Linked DNA regions of Homo sapiens: regions 1, 2 and 3 are each linked to region 4. The links are contacts of gene promoters, found by promoter capture Hi-C in blood cells and fetal thymus (Javierre and others, 2016). All regions are on one chromosome and are shown on one strand. The core of a region is centred on a gene start or on the middle of the fragment in contact, and the rest is flanking DNA. Distances in the headings are between cores, read along the strand shown. Region 1 overlaps ASAH1-AS1 (ASAH1 antisense RNA 1). Region 2 overlaps ASAH1 (N-acylsphingosine amidohydrolase 1). Region 3 overlaps PCM1 (pericentriolar material 1). Region 4 holds the start of CNOT7 (CCR4-NOT transcription complex subunit 7).

The links. The method cuts DNA at HindIII sites, captures the fragments that hold promoters and counts their contacts. A CHiCAGO score of 5 or more calls a contact.
Region 1: a contact is called between a fragment that was not itself captured here and the fragment with the promoter of CNOT7 in region 4, in 1 of 17 cell types (neutrophils). The highest score is 6.1, in neutrophils.
Region 2: a fragment that was not itself captured here is called in contact with the fragment with the promoter of CNOT7 in region 4 in 1 of 17 cell types (neutrophils); the score reaches 7.1 in neutrophils.
Region 3: a fragment that was not itself captured here is called in contact with the fragment with the promoter of CNOT7 in region 4 in 1 of 17 cell types (neutrophils); the score reaches 6.8 in neutrophils.

Annotation. Positions count from the first base shown.
Region 1 is chr8:18,087,115-18,091,879 of GRCh38, forward strand. It overlaps ASAH1-AS1 (ASAH1 antisense RNA 1), which reads left to right. Exons shown (of 5, transcript NR_125429.1): 4 at 1-23. It also overlaps the pseudogene MRPS18CP3 and the pseudogene ABRAXAS1P2. Among named protein-coding and RNA genes, the nearest start is that of ASAH1-AS1, 4.6 kb to the left of the region's middle. The HindIII fragment of the contact is 6,497 bases long and covers 1-4,765 here.
Region 2 is chr8:18,055,953-18,058,683 of GRCh38, forward strand. It overlaps ASAH1 (N-acylsphingosine amidohydrolase 1), which reads right to left. Exons shown (of 14, transcript NM_177924.5): 14 at 40-1,671. The coding sequence ends at 1,582. Among named protein-coding and RNA genes, the nearest start is that of ASAH1, 27 kb to the right of the region's middle. The HindIII fragment of the contact is 9,765 bases long and covers 1-2,731 here.
Region 3 is chr8:17,977,832-17,982,248 of GRCh38, forward strand. It overlaps PCM1 (pericentriolar material 1), which reads left to right. Exons shown (of 39, transcript NM_006197.4): 24 at 2,760-2,924. Among named protein-coding and RNA genes, the nearest start is that of PCM1, 57 kb to the left of the region's middle. The HindIII fragment of the contact is 1,341 bases long and covers 634-1,974 here.
Region 4 is chr8:17,244,692-17,249,507 of GRCh38, forward strand. It overlaps CNOT7 (CCR4-NOT transcription complex subunit 7), which reads right to left and starts at 2,166. Exons shown (of 7, transcript NM_013354.7): 1 at 1,984-2,166; 2 at 345-556. The coding sequence starts at 461. VPS37A (VPS37A subunit of ESCRT-I) reads left to right here and starts at 2,267. Exons shown (of 12, transcript NM_152415.3): 1 at 2,267-2,678. The coding sequence starts at 2,554. RefSeq lists an enhancer at 1,915-2,763. The HindIII fragment of the contact is 11,268 bases long and covers 1-4,816 here.

The DNA.
Region 1 (4,765 bases), core at 1,750-4,249, 840 kb after region 4:
ACCACCAGTAAACTTATTTTATAGTAAGTGGTTGTATGACGCCAATACTGACTCAAACCAACCTTTGGATAGAAAAGTGTTTCAGGAGTGAGGTAAAGAATGACACTTCCCCTTCATACCAATCAGTGTTCATTAAGCAGATCGCTTATTTAAAATGTTAACACTCATCACATTTTACATATGTTGAATGAAAGTGGTTCTGGGTGATAGTCATTTATATCTGGTCCACAAATAGCTCATACAATGTAGTACACCATTCAACTGAATGGAGTTAAAACTGCTCAGAATGGTTTTCTAACTAGCAAATGTAAGTATGCCTGGTTAAGAGATCTTCCCTTTGTAGGAATGTTACACTGGGATGCATAGTGATGCTGTCACAGCAGGACAAAACATTCCTAGACAACTCTATCCTCAAACCAGTAGTGTCTTTTACATAAAAAGATGATTTACACCTAATAGACAGTGAATGTGATAGACATGTATGTATATATGTATCAGTTCTGAGTTCCACCAGCCTATCCCAAACACACTGGATTACCAGGCTTGTACTGTACTCAAAATTAAGGATTTGCTAAATTTCGTGCAAAGGACTCTAAACTAGGGGAGAGATTATTGTTTGTGTTGCGTTATAGTTGTGTAATAATTAAGGCTGCCAGATTTAGCAAGTACAAATGTAGGACAAATTTAAATTTTAGATCATGTTTTGCAAAGGTACTGCGTGAGATCCAGCATTTTATCTGGCAACACTAGCTGTAATGTACTTCTAAAAAATTATCACCTAAGGATAATTTTAATGACTCAGATAAATTTCATATAAATTTCTTTCCACATTGTGAAAATAAGGCTATTCTAGCTTTTCTAATACTTTTTTTTTTTTTTTAATAGAGATGGGTCTCACTGTGTTGCCCAGGCTGGTCTCTAACTCCTGGCCTCAATCATTCCTGCCTTGTCTTCCCTAAGTGCTGGGATTACAGCTGTGAGCCACTGTGCCTGGCCTCACTTTTCCAATTCTAAAGAATGTGTGTAAGCCTTTCCCTCAACAACTTATTGAAAGGCGAAAAAAGGTTTGGAAATAAAAGGATCTGATGTTTGAAAAAGTACTTTGTAAAATAAATGCACTAAGACTTATCTGTGGATTACTGCAAAGAGGTGAATATAGTAAAAACAAATGAACTTACCTGTATTACTGCAAGTAGCTCAACCTAGTAAAAACAATGGAAATGTTTGACTTTACCCATCAGCCAAATTAAAAAAATCTCCTTTTAAGGTTAAAAGGATCAAAATGTAGGTGACCGTGAATATTCACCAAAACCTTCATCTTTTCAATCTCTTCATCTGTTTCTGGGCTGCTCATTTTGGATGCTTTTTTATTGGTTACTACTATCAGTATCTGTTTTAGATGGTTTGTCTTGTGTGTCTAACAGCCGTGAACACTCTTTTTTTTTTTTTTTTTTCTCCTGAGTCGAAGTATTCCTCTGTAGCCCAGGCTGGAGTGCAGTGGCAGGATCTCAGCTCACTGCAAGCTCCGCCTTCTGGGTTCACACCATTCTCCTGCCTCAGCCTCCCAAGCAGCTGGGACTACAGGCACCTGCCACCACGCCGGGCTAATTTTTTGTATTTTAATAGAGACAGGGTTTCACCATGTTAGCCAGGATGGTCTCTGTCTCCTGACCTCCTGATCCGCCCACCTTGGCCTCCCAAAGTGCTGGGATTATAGTCGTGAGCCACCGCGCCCAGCCAATTTTTTTGTATTAGAGATGGGGTTTCACTGTGTTAGCCAGGATGGTCTCGATCTCCTGACCTCGTGATCCGTCCGCCGTCATCTCTTGAACTGCCATCTGTCAGCTAAGTCTAAGGTTTTATGCTTAACCATTTGTGGTGTACTAGCTGGACTAGCTTCAGGAATGTCAGTGTTTTCTACCATTAAGGTCAGATTGTCTACTACATCGAGATGGTGGTGGTTGTTAGAGCTACCTTTAGAAACATGTCTGTTTTTTTAAAGACATAACACATGCATGAAGAATTCAGAATCTGGAAAAAAGGTCCATAATGTTTGACAAAGAAAAATGTTCTCCTGAGGGTCTTTTTTGGATGCTCTTCTCTCGTTCTGCTGGAATCTGGGCTCATCTCCTTTTTTCAATTTCTCGTTTTAATCTGTTTACATCCTTTACTAGTTTATCTACTGCTTGTTCACTGTCTTCCACTTTTTTGCATATACTCTTTAATTTCTCTTACAATGAAGCATACATTTCATTTATCTTATGTACCTCCTTTAAGGATCCATCTTCTTCAAAAAATTTAGAGCTGTGTGTTTGTACTGCTCGGCTAAAACCAGTGGACATACAGGAACCTGATACAGTTTTATAACCTAGTTGTTCAGACATGCCCAGATTGGCAACCACTGAAGGTACCCTGTGAAAAAGTCCTTTTCGAGGTTTATATAAGGCATGTTCCAGTCGATGAGTAGAGCGGCTTTCTGTTATTATACTTGGTGTTCATAGCAGAAAAACCAGGTCTTGGTTTGAAAAATGCTCCTGCAAGTTTTTGTGAAGCAGCCTCTCTCTAAATGTCATGATCTGATCTGAATGACGATGGAATTTGTAACAACCTACCACATTTTTTGTGAATTTGATAATATTTTCCTCAGTGCCTGCTTATTTACTTCACCTGAAGAATTATAAAAACTAAAAAACTGATAGCATGGAATATATTTCTGAATGTCAATTGTATAAACAACTTCAGCATCATCTATTTGGGAATCAGTAATGCTATTCTTTTTTTTTTTTTTTTGAGATGGAGTCTAGCTCTGTCACCCAAGTTGGAGTGAGGTGGCCCGATCTTGGCTCACTGCAACCTCTGCCTCCCGGATTCAAGCAATTTTCCTGCCTCAGCCTCCCAAGTAGCTGGGATTACAGGCGCCCACCACCATGCCCAGCTAATTTTTTGTATTTTTAGTAGAGACGAGGTTTCACCATGTCAGCCAGGCTGGTCTCGAACTCCTGACCTCAGGTGATCCACCCGCCTCAGCCTCCCAAAGTGCTGGGGTTACAGGCGTGAGCCACCATGCTTGGCCTTGTCTTCTCCCTTCTAATATGAAAGAGGAAGCTAGGAATCCCCATTGCTGCTGGCATGCATGCTATAAACCTGAAGGGAGCCACCTAAGATGAAATTGATACTGTGGACTACACAGTAGAAAGATGGAAAGAAACTGGGTCATTGATGACATTGTCAAGATGCTAGATCAACCAACCACAGATCCTGTCCAACAACTGGACTCTTGATTTACATCAGCCACTACTCTGTTATTGAATCTTGGACAAGTTGGTTTGCTTACAAGTTAAATTATTGTATCTGAGAGCATCCTAACTGATACACACATGAAAATAGACATTTCTCCTTTGTTGAGAAGGATGTACAACAAATCTATGAACTTTAAGTTTTAGTACCTTCACTTGCTCATGCCCCTTCCCAACCTTTTACTAAATTTTATGCTTGTAATTTTGTATTCTTTTCCTTAAGGAGGACCACTTAAATTGCATAAGATTCAGGTGTCACCAAACCTGGATCTAGCATCAGATGTTGTTGGAAGAAAATGTCCACCTTTCTCTGCCGTCTCCTCCATTCATGTCTCCCTAGGGAAGGAGAGATGTATGATGTATCTAATCAGTAAATAGTTGAAAAGGTCACAGAACGTGCGTGGCCTGGCCTCTCTTCTGGCGCTTTCATTCAGATCTGCCTCCCCACAGTAGTAGATATGCCTGCCCACACTGGTAATTCTACTGCAGCAAGCCTTGAATGACAACAGTGGACGTGAAAGTAGTTGCTGCCTTTGACCACATCTTCCCAAAGTGGCACGTCACCAACAGACTTTAAAATCATGACGTTATAACGTAATGGCTGTGAAGATTTGGAAGAAAGCACTCTAAAATGAGAGCTCTGAGAGATGTAGAGAGAAGGCAGTCAAGGAATAGCGCCTATAAGCACCTCCTGCACATCCGGTCCCTGCGCCTCCATCCTCACCCTGCCCTCAGCTCACTCCCCTCCTGTTAGAAATTGGCTGTGCCCCTGAAAAGTCATTTGCATTTGCCTAAAGACTGAGTACACAAGCTCATTCCAAAGTAGAAGGTGTTGAAGTTCCATTTTGGCCTCAGGTCAAAATTGTTTTCTCTATTTCAGCTTAATGAGCAAGAAAGCAGAATCTAATATGTGTATATTTCTAACGCCTGTGTATATTTCTCAACTGTTTCCCAGCTCAGAAAGGTGAGGAGTATGACAGTCACCCTGAAATGACAACAGAAGCCAACAATAACAATTATAGTAATAATGTGTGTATAGAAAGTACTAAATGACCATTAAATGAAGAGCAGATTACTAGGTGCTATGGAAGATACACATGCAGTGAAATACAAATTCCAGATCTCAGGGAGTTTGCAACCGAAAAAGAATATAACACTAATATATATACAAGGGGACTTCAAAACGTTCACCTGCACCCTCCACCTCCCAGGTTCAAAGATGGAGTTAAAGGATAAAAAGTATAAACTTTATTTCTTTTTTTTTTTTTTTTTGTGAGATGGAGTCTCCCTCTGTCGCCCAGGCTGGAGTGCAGTGGTGCAATCTCGGCTCACTGCAAGCTCCCCCTCCCAGGTTCACGCCATTCTCCTGCCTCAGCCTCCTGTCATAAGCACCATCAAGGTCAAGACACTTTTGTCAGGGATGATACCAGCCATTTAGTCCATCCTTAAAAAAAAGAGGGTCCTGGGAA
Region 2 (2,731 bases), core at 232-2,731, 810 kb after region 4:
TAAACTTTGATTTACTCCGGAGAAATCGGTCTGAAACAATTAGCATCTCACCTCTTTACTATCAGGCATATCAAAGGTTATTACATTAACAAAAAAATACATCAAGTTGACCTGACTTCATTTATGTAAGAGGTAGAAAATCTGAGTAAAGTTTTTTTTTCATTAATTAAATCCTATTTTAATGTAAATCCTCTTATAATTCCTCGTTTCACTAAAGTAATCTTGGAATCACTAAAGTTTTGTGGAAGCACCACCTATCTGGGGGAAAAACTGCCTTTAAACACCTGCAAATTGGGTTGATAGTATCTGGTTAAGAGGTGGTATCAGTCATGTAAGAGTAAGATTGTGACCGTTTAGTCATATTTAATAACCCACTTACATAACCCTTGTTATTTAATTCAGATACGATGTTCAGCTTGTATTTCTTGATAATAACCCCCCTCCTCCAAACCAACACAGATGTACACACCCAATCAGCGTGCATGACTGCTGACTGGCACTCTTTCCAGTGACTGTTTATTGAGTGTCAGGAACACAACTGTGATTATACAAAATGAAGTGGACAAACGGTCTTGCACAAATGACGTACATTTCACAGTTAATCGTGAAGGTTAGAAAGGTTAACAAGTTCTATTAGTACTTTTCATAAGCAGTTTGATTTCTGAAAAATACAGTAACATAATTTTAGTAACTACTAAAATTTCTTTAAAACTCCCTATCAATCTGAAGAACAAACTAAAAACCTGTTTATTACATGAATGCTACTTATGAGAATTTAAAATATGGGTTCACTTCCTATTTTCCACAAGTCTTTGACTTGTTTATTTACTAAATTAACAGAACGTGGGATGCAGTTTTTTAAGTTAGCAACTTCCTTAGGGTTACTGGGAAGTAGAGTAATTATGAAAAAGGGAACACTTCAATTATTGTATAAAAGATTGCTTTGCATACTGATTACTTCTTGAACCCCAAAAAGTGCTATTTAGAGGCAAGGGCCCATTTTGTGCCCATTAAAAGAAATATACAGGTGAATGTCTGTCTCATCCCTCTAATCATATGTAATAAAATTATATCGCTGTCAATAACAGCAAAGATAATGATATATTAATTTTAACAGCAGTTAGAACCAGAAGGAAAAGGCTGTTATACAGAAAAACATACAAATATGTAGGTAGAAGTGAAAAACTGAAGAATGTGGAGTGTTTACTGTCCCGTTACTCACACAGACGTGCTGGATTCAACACCCACGCTGAATCTCCATTTATTCCACGGAGGTGGAGTTCACCATGGTTCGACTGCCCACCAGATCCCCAAATGTCAAAGTGAAACAAAACTCAGTGAATTCTAGATGACTGTTTTACTTCCCCTAAAGAAGTTATCTGTAAATAAGAAAAATCAACTGATAGGGGGAAAAAAAAAAGATCTGTCATTTGTCAACAGATGGACGAAGACAAGCTATTGACTCAAAGAGAACCTGCCGCGAGTCTTAGTCTTTGGAAGGTCAGACAGCTGCAGTGTTCGGTCACATGGAGATGGTGTCTTCATGTCTCAGAGGCCGCATTCTGTAGGCCAGACGTGTGCTCACCAACCTATACAAGGGTCAGGGCAGTCCCGCAGGTAAGTTTCGAATTGACCTTTGGTAACATCTATCAAGGTTGTGTATACGGTCAGCTGAAAGAAAAGTTATTTTTACTTTAAGGACGTTTTCAATTCAGAGATGTTCTGATATATATTAGCATTTCTATACTTGTAGAATTTGCTTTAGAAGTTATTTAATATTAAATAATATAACTTAATATATGCAAAGCATGTTATATAATGTATATATTTATATTAATATAGTATAATCATATAAAATTAGCTAAAGTCTCACCAAATAACTAAAGCAAACAACTTCAACAGGATCACTGTTTCAGGTAATGAATATAAACAGGCTCAGGAAAGAATCTCCAGCTCCTTATAGGAGCTTATTCCTGACAGCACATTGCTCCACCCCCAATGCTTTAAGACTGCCTTAACCCTCCTTGACGCACAGCTGGCAGTCCTGGGAGACCTGCCGGTGTCCTATGGAGTAAAAACCGTGGAGCTTTGGCTATCCCTATCCTTAAAGCATTTCCAATACAGTGGGGGAAACTGCAGGCACCCAGATCACAAGGCACACACCCAAACACAAGTCACGAGATTGTGACTTGCTCAAAGATGGTATAGGCAAAACGCAAGTATGGCAGGGCCCGTGAACTGAAGGCAGGCTTCCTGTGAGAGCCAGGGTGACCTGGATGCTAAAGGCCGGAGGGATTTGTCCTGGCAGGGTAAAGGCGGCATGTTTACTTTAGGGAGAGCTGTGGAGAAGGACCAAGAAAAGAAGGAACAAATGGGAAAATTAGGGGGGCATATTCAGAACGTTCAGGGAATGATTGTTAGCGAGTGGTGGGATGATAGGAAACTTTTTGCATTTTTTTAAAACTACAGTGTAGGGAAAAGATAAACAGATGTAGTAAAGTTTAAGGGAAACCCGAACCCACCAAGACACAGAGCTCTGTCTGAAAATGGACTGCAGACTTTGTTTTGTTGACATTTAGGTGTTAGTTATATAGTGTGAGATTTTTAATAGATACCAATAAGAGTAAAATGCTAGCCTTAATTCAAATGCTATGTAAATAAAGCTATAAACAATATTCTGACCTATCAAGCCTCAGTGATCAATTTCTTTCTTGTATTCCAAAATACAGTT
Region 3 (4,417 bases), core at 54-2,553, 730 kb after region 4:
AGACTTCCATGCACCCTCATCTTGCCATTATTAAAGCTATCCAGCATTTGGGTCCAGCCTTAAGAGAAGGTGAGAGTCATGACTAGGCCAGTGAATATAACAGTGCATATAAAAGGGACCTAGTTACCAGGGAGAAAACAGAAGTAGACCACTGAAAGAGGCAAAACCTAGTGAAAATAGAATTATTGAACAAAATATTGAACAAATACACTTGAACAAAATAATAAGGGCACATAAGCAGATTGAATTATAACAAATTCTTTAGAGCTAGAAAAAAATGACATTAAGTTTTAATGTTTAGATTATTTAAAAAAGAGGACACGTGCTATTAAGTTCCAAATTACAGGCCTAGAAAATCAGGGGGAAGAATTATGTCATTAAATGGAATGAAAGTACTAACAGATAAAATCAAGAGAAGACGATTAGAGACTTACAAGAAGTTCTGAAGGGGAAAATAAAAAACCAGGTGGACAAGCAATAACTAAATAATAGATGGGATGAAGAAAGACTTGAGACTGCAGATCAGAACAGCTGGCTGTTGTCTAGCCAGGAGAGAAGTGAGGGAAACACACAAACACCTATGCAGAGTCTGGCAAAATCCCTGAATTCCAAGGAAAAAGTAAAAATCCTCTAAGCTTCCATATGAAAGACCAAGTTGCATACAAAGAAAAAGAACCAAACCGACACCAGGCAATCTTCCTTACCACACAAGCAGAAGTAGAAAAAAGTGGAATGACGCTACACAGTTGACAAAGAACTGCAACTCAGGAACCTTGTACTCAGCCAAAGGACCCTCCACATGTCAGAATGAAAAGGAGATACTAGTTTATCCTATCTGAGGAAAACTAAAGAAACAACCTGTGAATCAAAATAGAGACCTTTATACAGGGGAAGATAAAGAAGACAGAGAACAGTTTAATAAAGAAAACAGTAGATCAGTCTCACTAATATAAATTCAAAAGTAAAAATAAAATATTAGCAAATTGAATCTGCCATTGTATCAAAAGAATTCTAGACTATCAACACTAGAGTTTATTTCAGACATGTAATGATGATTTGTTACCAGGAAATCTGTCAACATAATTTATTCTATCAAAGGGACAAATAATCATAGAAGCTATTCTCATGAGAATTTGAAGTAAAATGGGTATAAGAAGGCAGTTATGCCTGTAATCCCAGCACTTTGGGAGGGCGAGGCAGTTGGATTGCTTGAGCCTGGTAGGTGGAGTTTGCAATGAGCCAAGACTGTGTCACTGTACTTGAGCCTGGGCAACAGAATGAGACTCAGTCTCAAAAGAAAAGAAAAAAAAAAAAAAAGCAGTTATTTGAGTGTAATAAAGACTGTTAGCCAGTGTACATCATTGTAAATGAAAGTACTCCAGAGATATTTCTATCTCAGTTAGGAACTAAACAGGGATTCCTTCTGTCCCACCATCATTATTTACCATTATTTGGGAAGCATTAGGTCAAATAATTGGAATTATAATGGTAGTAAATATTGGAAAAGGAAGGAAGCAAGTTTTATGTGTTCTTTTCTAGTGGCATTTTTGTATACTAAGAAAGCCCAAGAGATACTGGAAAGTAGCTCCTAGAGTTACAAGGTAAACTGTTAAAGTGGCTGGTTATGGAATAAGTGTGTGAATATTTTTCTCTGTTGTAATATCCAGTAGCATGAAAGTGGAGAGGAACGCTCTTCTCATAGTAGTACTCTAAGTGTTTGAGTGGGGGGTATGAAATGTAAGGAACAAATTTAACAAGGAAAGTACTAGGTCTATAAAAAGCTATAAAGTATTTTTGAAGAACATCAGAAAGATTGAACAAATATAAAAACATAACCATGTTCTTAAGATGGAAAAGATGGAAATGCATAAGATTATTAAATACCATTTCTCCTGAGATTAATACATACTTTTAATTTGATTCCATTTTGAGTCCCCAGAGATTGTTTTTAAAATTAAAAACAAAAAACAACAAAGCTTATGTGGAAGGACAGATGCCCAAGAATAGTCAAGAAAAAAGTGAAGCTAGTGGGACTTGCCTTAGCAGATATTTGATCATCCTGTATAACTTGTGTTTCTAAATGAATAAAAATGGCATTGGAATAGCTAAGTTGAACACATAAATGTCCAAAAGTAAAACCCCAAATATTGGAATTTAATATATTGACCGATGTGTATTTTAATTCAGTGGAAAGAGGGTAGGTATAGCCACCTATCCATGTGGAACAAAAAAAAAAAAGGAATTTCTACCTTGTATATATACCAAAATATTTTAAAAACTTGAAAATTTTATAGAATATATGTATAACCTATCAGTGGGTAAGACCTTTTAAACCAAGTCATGTCACATAAAAGATAACAATAAGAAAGGCAAATGTATTTGACTACTCTCCCTCTATAATGGATATTTGTATATATCGGATGTGATTCTTATGTCTCCTAATATTAAAAATTGCTAACTTGGAATTCTAGTAGAGATTTGGGGTCATGTAAGGTCTGCCATATACTTCGAATTGGAATATACTCATTAAGATGAGTATCAAAGAACAGTGAAGGTTAGATTTATTACTGTTAGCTCATGCTTCCAAAGGGTATTGCAAAGATACCTCCAAGACATATTTACTGTTTTGTATTCTATTTATACCAGGCCTTCCTAGCATTGTAAATTGAGTTACCTGTACTGTTACACAATGGAAACCGATTTCCCTTTTAGTTTGAGTTAGTTGCAACTGATAACAGTTGTCACTTTTTTTACTCAAGGGTATGAAAGTGCCAGTATGTCTAGCACATGTGAACCTTGCAAAAGTAGGAACAGACATTCAGCCCAGACTGAAGAGCCTGTTCAAGCAAAAGTATTCAGCAGAAAGAATCATGAGCAACTGGAAAAAATAATAAAATGTAATAGGTCTACAGAAATATCTTCAGGTATGTTCTTTTTTGGTTTGCATTAATATAAGGAGGTTTTCAGCTTAGATTTGAAAAGCTATAATAAAGCAGGTGTTAAAATTGGTGTTTCACACGTATCTATCATGTGGAAGGTTTTATAGTGGAAATTATAGTACACATTCCTTGATACTGAAAAATAAAAACTGAAAATATTTTGTGTTATACTATTTAATAGTTTTGGACACATTTTAATAAAATTCTAAACAAAGGATAGTTACAATTGTGGAACTCTTCAAATTCTGAAAATCTTATCTGATTAAGAATTAGATATGAAATCATGTCATCTCCTGCTTCAATCCTTTGGCTTACTGTGCCTACAGGATAAAGTCTGAATGCCTTCATGGAACGTACATGGCCATCAGGGATTTGGTTCCTTCCTGCCTCTCCAGACTCATTTCTCAACACACTCTGCCTTGAACTTTTTTCTTTCTGTGGCACTGAACTGGAGTTTTTGTATAGCTATCACATTCTTTCTTACCTTGGTAGCTGTTTTTCTATCTCAAGTCCTTTCTGCCTTTTTTGTAAGTTCGTTTCTCTGCTGGACTCTTAATACAATTTTAATTCTGAAACTCCATTCTAATCCAAGCTAGGATAGTTTCCCCTTTCTCCTGTTTTCCTTGTAGCTTGTGTAAACCTATTTTGTTGCCTTAATCACATTATTATAGTATTTCCCTGTTTGTCACTTTTTTGAGTCCCTTGGCAGCAGATAAAAGCACCAGTAGTTTCCTAATTTGTAAAGAGCATCTCAAAGAAATATGGAGAGAGAGAGGCAATAACATGACATTAGACTATAGTGGATAGACCTTAATCTAGTAGCTTTCATTGACATTAGTATAAAATGCATGCGTTTTTTGTTTAAAAATGATAACAGCAGCTATCTTTTGTACCATGCTCCATTATTTTCAAATTACCAACAAATCTCATTTGAGCCTCATAATGCTGAGTTGGTTTTATTTCCATTTTTCGGAGGAAACATGGTCAAAGAGGGAACTTTTTTTTGTTTTGTTTTTCAGTACTCATAAAGGCTCAGTAATGTAAACTGGTACAACTTTCCTGGAAAGCTTCAGAAGTCATGCCCTTAATCCAGTAATTGTACTTGTAGTAATCCATCCTAAGAAGACAAAAGGGGAAAAAAAAAAAAGACATTAAGATTTAGTGTTGTCTCAACAGTATGGTTTCAACTATGTATAAACAAAAATTTGAAAGCAAAAAGGCCGGAAGAAAATGCATCAAAATGTTAATAGTGGTTTTATCATCTTTAAACTCATAATGAGCATTTATCATTTTGTAATCAGAAAAGAAACATCACATTTGTTTGCATTTTGAAATGAATTTCTCAAGCTTACATTGCTAGGAAATGGTAAAGCTGAACTTAGAAGCTGGGCTTCTGTTAAGTCTGTGTTCCTTTCTGCAAAAATATCAATCCTATTCTTCTGAACCCAGAATTTTACTAAAATTTTATAATTTTCATC
Region 4 (4,816 bases), core at 916-3,415:
CCCCAGCTTCCCGAACACATCCAATCCACAGTAAAGCTCTGCTTCCCTTACCTTCCCCTAAGACCACCTGACACGAGCCCAAATCCTTCCTAACTCTTATTCAAACGGCCCATGGTTCCCATGAATTCCAGTGCGTTTTCCCTCACTGCAATGAGGGATAAACCCAACCTGTCAAATCACAGGTGTATTCCTGATGGATTTTGGCTGGAGGGCAGTGACAAATTTTACTTTTCATGGTGAAATTAATCCCTAAAAATATCAACCAAAAGGGTTGAATTCAAGACTTTAAAATTTCCTTTTCCTCCTTTATATGAAGCGTTTTAAAGATCTGCTTGTGGGCATACCATAGCAACGTAATTATATTTTCGGATAACTTGACGAATTTTCTTCATCTCTTCATCCAAGTTGCAAGCCCAAACTTCACAAATTCTTTGGCTATGATCTACAGTTGCCGCTGGCATAGTGAGGGCACAAGGGAGTCTAGATGCCAAGCATCAAAATGTTATACTTGATTGAAGATTTGTTTCATAAAATATTTTATCCTTTATTTATGTACCTGTCAAAATAAAAAAACAATATGAAGACCAGATATATCAAATCTGAATCACAGAATAATTGATCCAGCAGGAACCTAAGAAGTTATTTATTCAAAGTTCTTGACTCATAAAAAAAAAAAATCAAAGTTTAGAAAGTAACTTAAGGTCACACAGCTAGTCTATAGGAAAAAAAGGACTACAGTACAGATTTCCTGGTCCTAATTTCAGTTATTTTAAAATAGCTTTTTTACACATACATACTAATCATATTTTATAACTTTCCACTAATTATTTATCTGAGTTCAACTACTCTGCATAAAACTTTATAAAGCCATCCATTTCCAGACAAAAAATGAAAAATTACTTATTTACATGTGACAAGATCAGATGTTACCATGGCAAAGATGGTGTTTATTTTTATTCCTCATTAATAAAACAACCAAAATCCGACTTGATAACAAGATCTACTTTACCGGCGTTTATTCTAACTAGACTAGAGGGGTCAAAAATGTTTGTAAATGCTCTGAGAAAAAAGTAACGGCCATGAAAATTATCTGAATGTTCGCAGTTGCAGAACGGAAAAAGAACACAATAGAACGTCTAAAACTTAGAGCATATTGCATGGTTACCAAAGATAGATGTCACATTTCTGGTCTATAAACAGAGTTCCTGTTGATTCTTGGGCAGGGAAATTTCAAATCCTTCTGCATTTTTCATACAAATTGGAAAAAAAAAAAACAAGAGTAAAAAGAGGGTCTTATGACTGTCTTCTAAACTCTGAAGAGTCACAAATGTAACTTCCAATTCTCCAAGTAGAGAAACTAAAGGAGATCCAGGACACCCCTCCTTTATAACTCTCCCACCCCGATAGGCACACACACACACATAAGCACAAAAACACAAAGACTTGGAAAGACCCTGTAGTCTAACATTGTTTTCCTCCACCTCTCTCTCTACTGCAGTCCCAGAAGCCCCGAAGAGACACCAAAGGCCTTCTCATTACTGGAGAAAGCATCTCCGTACTGCAGTTTCCCAGAGAAACGAGAGGACGGCACCGAGGTATTCAAGCCATAGATAACTCTCTTCCCTGGCAAAGCGCCAGTGCGAAGGTGCTGATAACACTGACTGGAGCTACACTGACTCCCAAGCACTGCCGCGTGAAACAATACGAAGAGGTGAGGATCTAGGCCACCGCCCTCCACTCCCAATTTCCGTCCCACTGCGAAGCCCCAGGTACAAAGCCTTTGCGTCATCACTACGCGCCAACCCCTTGACAAACCCCCAGCCCCAGTTACCCAGCCCCCAACCCGCCGCCAGGCTCCTTCCTCCGCCAGCCGCACTCCAGCTGGCGCCATCGCGCACCCTCTCAGGTTCATCGTCCCCGCCCCCTTTCTACTTCCCTAACCCGCCCCTCCCCCCGTAAGGCTGCAGCGGATGCAAGATCTACTTGTGTCGCTGAGCTCGCGCTCCTCCTCCTCCTCCTCGCCATAGAGACAGCACTCGGCGGCGGTGGCGGTGGCGGTGGCGGTAGCGGCGGCGGCAGCGGGTGCCCCATAGACACCTCTCGCCCAGCGAAGGGAAAGGCGAGCAGGAGCTGCGCCGCACCGTGCTGCGCCGTCGCTTTTCGCACGTCCTGACGGGGGCGCTAGATGATGACGCGACACGCAGAGGGGGCGGAGAGCGCCCCCGGGGGCGGGGCACGCAAGTGACGGCGGCGCGGGTGGTGGAGCGCTGGGCGGCCAGGCTCCCTGGCTGGCCGGTTTGGGCGTCTGGGCCGTGAAGGTGGGACCTCCTGTTCCGGGCCGCAAGTTTCCCTCTCCAGCCGCCCGCCGTTCGTAGCATGTCCCCCAGAACTCGGGGAGCGCAGGCAGGACAGGCTTAGAGAAGACGCGGTCCCCAGCGCTTGGGCCACGGACGTCCCACCCCGCTCCTCTGTCGCTGGAGAACCGCCGGGCCGAGCCACTGGGAGAAGCAGGCCAGAGCCTTCCAGGGCCTCCGGCCCGTGGACCCGAGGAGGATGAGCTGGCTTTTTCCCCTGACCAAGAGCGCCTCCTCCTCCGCGGCTGGGTCCCCCGGTGGCCTCACCAGCCTCCAGCAGCAGAAGCAGCGCCTGATCGAGTCCCTCCGGAACTCACACTCCAGGTGACTGGTCGCTGCCTCTCCACCGGAGGAAAAAGTAGGGTGGGAGGGCGGGCTTGTCCTAACCACCCTCACAGCGCCTCAGTCTGCTCCCCACCAGCTCCTCATGTGGTTTACCTCCCTTGGTTGTGGGTCACACGCTTGCTCTGCCACTCCTGCCCCCTTTTACTGTTTTCCTCCGGACCCTCCCTGCCTCCTGCCGCACCACTGCTCAGCGCTTCTAACTCGGATTTCCTCATCCCTCCTGACACATAGCTGCTGACTGTAATCTCTCAATCTCTCTCATAGTCTATTTCCAGTATCCCTTGCTGCCCAGGCTTCGCCACTGATCTTTCCCTTTGCCCACCTGATTGCCGCGTCAGCAGAATTGTTAAAATACAATTGTGAAGAGTAATCTCCAGGTTTCACAAAGAATGGAAAATAGAACTGTTGCAACATCAAAGGAAAGGGAAGCCAGAGTTTTCATCAGTGAATGCTTCTCGTCTGAGAGTCACTTATCACGTAGTCAGTCTTCTTGAGTCTCTAAGATTTACCCTGTTGGAGCAGTCTCTCCCCATCTCACAGCGACCAGTGCATGTACATTTCTCACTTCTTTCATAGTCTTGTCCCCACGCTCAAGAATTACTTTATGTTCATCTTGATTGTTCTGTTGTCTTCCTGTGAGTTTTTCATTTTATCATGGTCAGTTTAGAAATATTTTTACAATTCATATTATTTCAACTTTTACTGTAAATTGGTTTGCTGCAGCCTTTTACATTGCAAATGTCTATGGTCTCTAATGGTTTTCAAAAATTAGAACTGCTTCTTTATATTTTATGCATTTTGCAAGTATATTTACTTAACAGTTTCACACTATTTTAAATAAAGATGACAACATTGTTAAGTCCCTAACCCCTTTTTTTTTTTTTTTTTTTGCCGGGGGTACGGCTCTCCTGTTGCCCAGGCTGGAGCGCAGTGGCGCGATCTCGGTTCACTGCAACCTCCGTCTCCCGGATTCAAGCAATCATCCTCCCTCAGCTCCCCACACCCCTCCGAGTAGCTGGGATTACAGGTGCGCGCCACCATGCGCGGCTAATATTTTGTATTTTTAGTAGAGACGGGGTTTCACCACATTGGTCAGGCTGGTCTCGAACTCCTGACCTTAGATTATCCACCCGCTTCGGCCTCCCAAAGTGCTGGGATTACAGGAATAAGCCACCTCGCCGGGCTCCTAGCCCTTTTAAAAATATTATTTTCATACAGTTAAAAAATATGTATCCTCAGATAATATCGAATAATTCTTATTTAAAATGGAATAATTTTTAATTAAATAGTCTAGTTAATAGAAAAATTTACTGCAAAATCAGTTTGGCTAAAATAAGGCCTGATGCTGACTGAACTTTAGGTGTTTCTTGGTTCGTTGTCTCAATTGTTCTGTTTGTTCAGAACTTTCAAAAGGTGAAATTTTATGCTGTTTAACAGAAAAGAATGGCAGGCTGTTATTGGTGGCTTTCATTCTGGAAAATTAAGTTCGCAAAGTTCTTACAAGTCACTCTTACTCCAAATCATGTTCTGTACTGACCTTTAAGAGCTACTCTCACAAGGTATGCTTATAAAATAAGGGGACTCGTTTTTAACATGTTTGTTCCCTTAGAAGTTGTTACCTTGGTAGACTATATACCAAACCAGTCCTGCTATTGCAGAAACACTTTTTTAGAACCACACTTTTGGAATTAATTGCTTTTAAACCTTAGTATGTAGTATTATGTTAAATATTTTCAATGCTGACTAATTTTTTTCTTCGAGGTTGGAGTTTAATTTTTTAAATACTACAAAGTCTCTTGCTGCTAAGGCTGGTAAGTAAGGGAAGTAATTGATGTGAAATTTATAATTTTGGCCTCCCAAATAAAGTGAGATTCTATAGCAGCAATTGTTAATGTAAAGAGTTCTGGAATTGGCTTAAGAGGATCAGTAAATACGCGGAGTTGGATACAGAAAGGATTCATTTTATGTATTATTTTTTGAACCAGAAATTATGAACGTATGATTGGACATGATTACATTAGATAATGTAATTTATTTTGTAGTGTTATGAACAAATAACTAAGTATTTTATTGTTTTAAGTTCTTTTATAAAAACACTTGAAGTTTTATTGAGATGT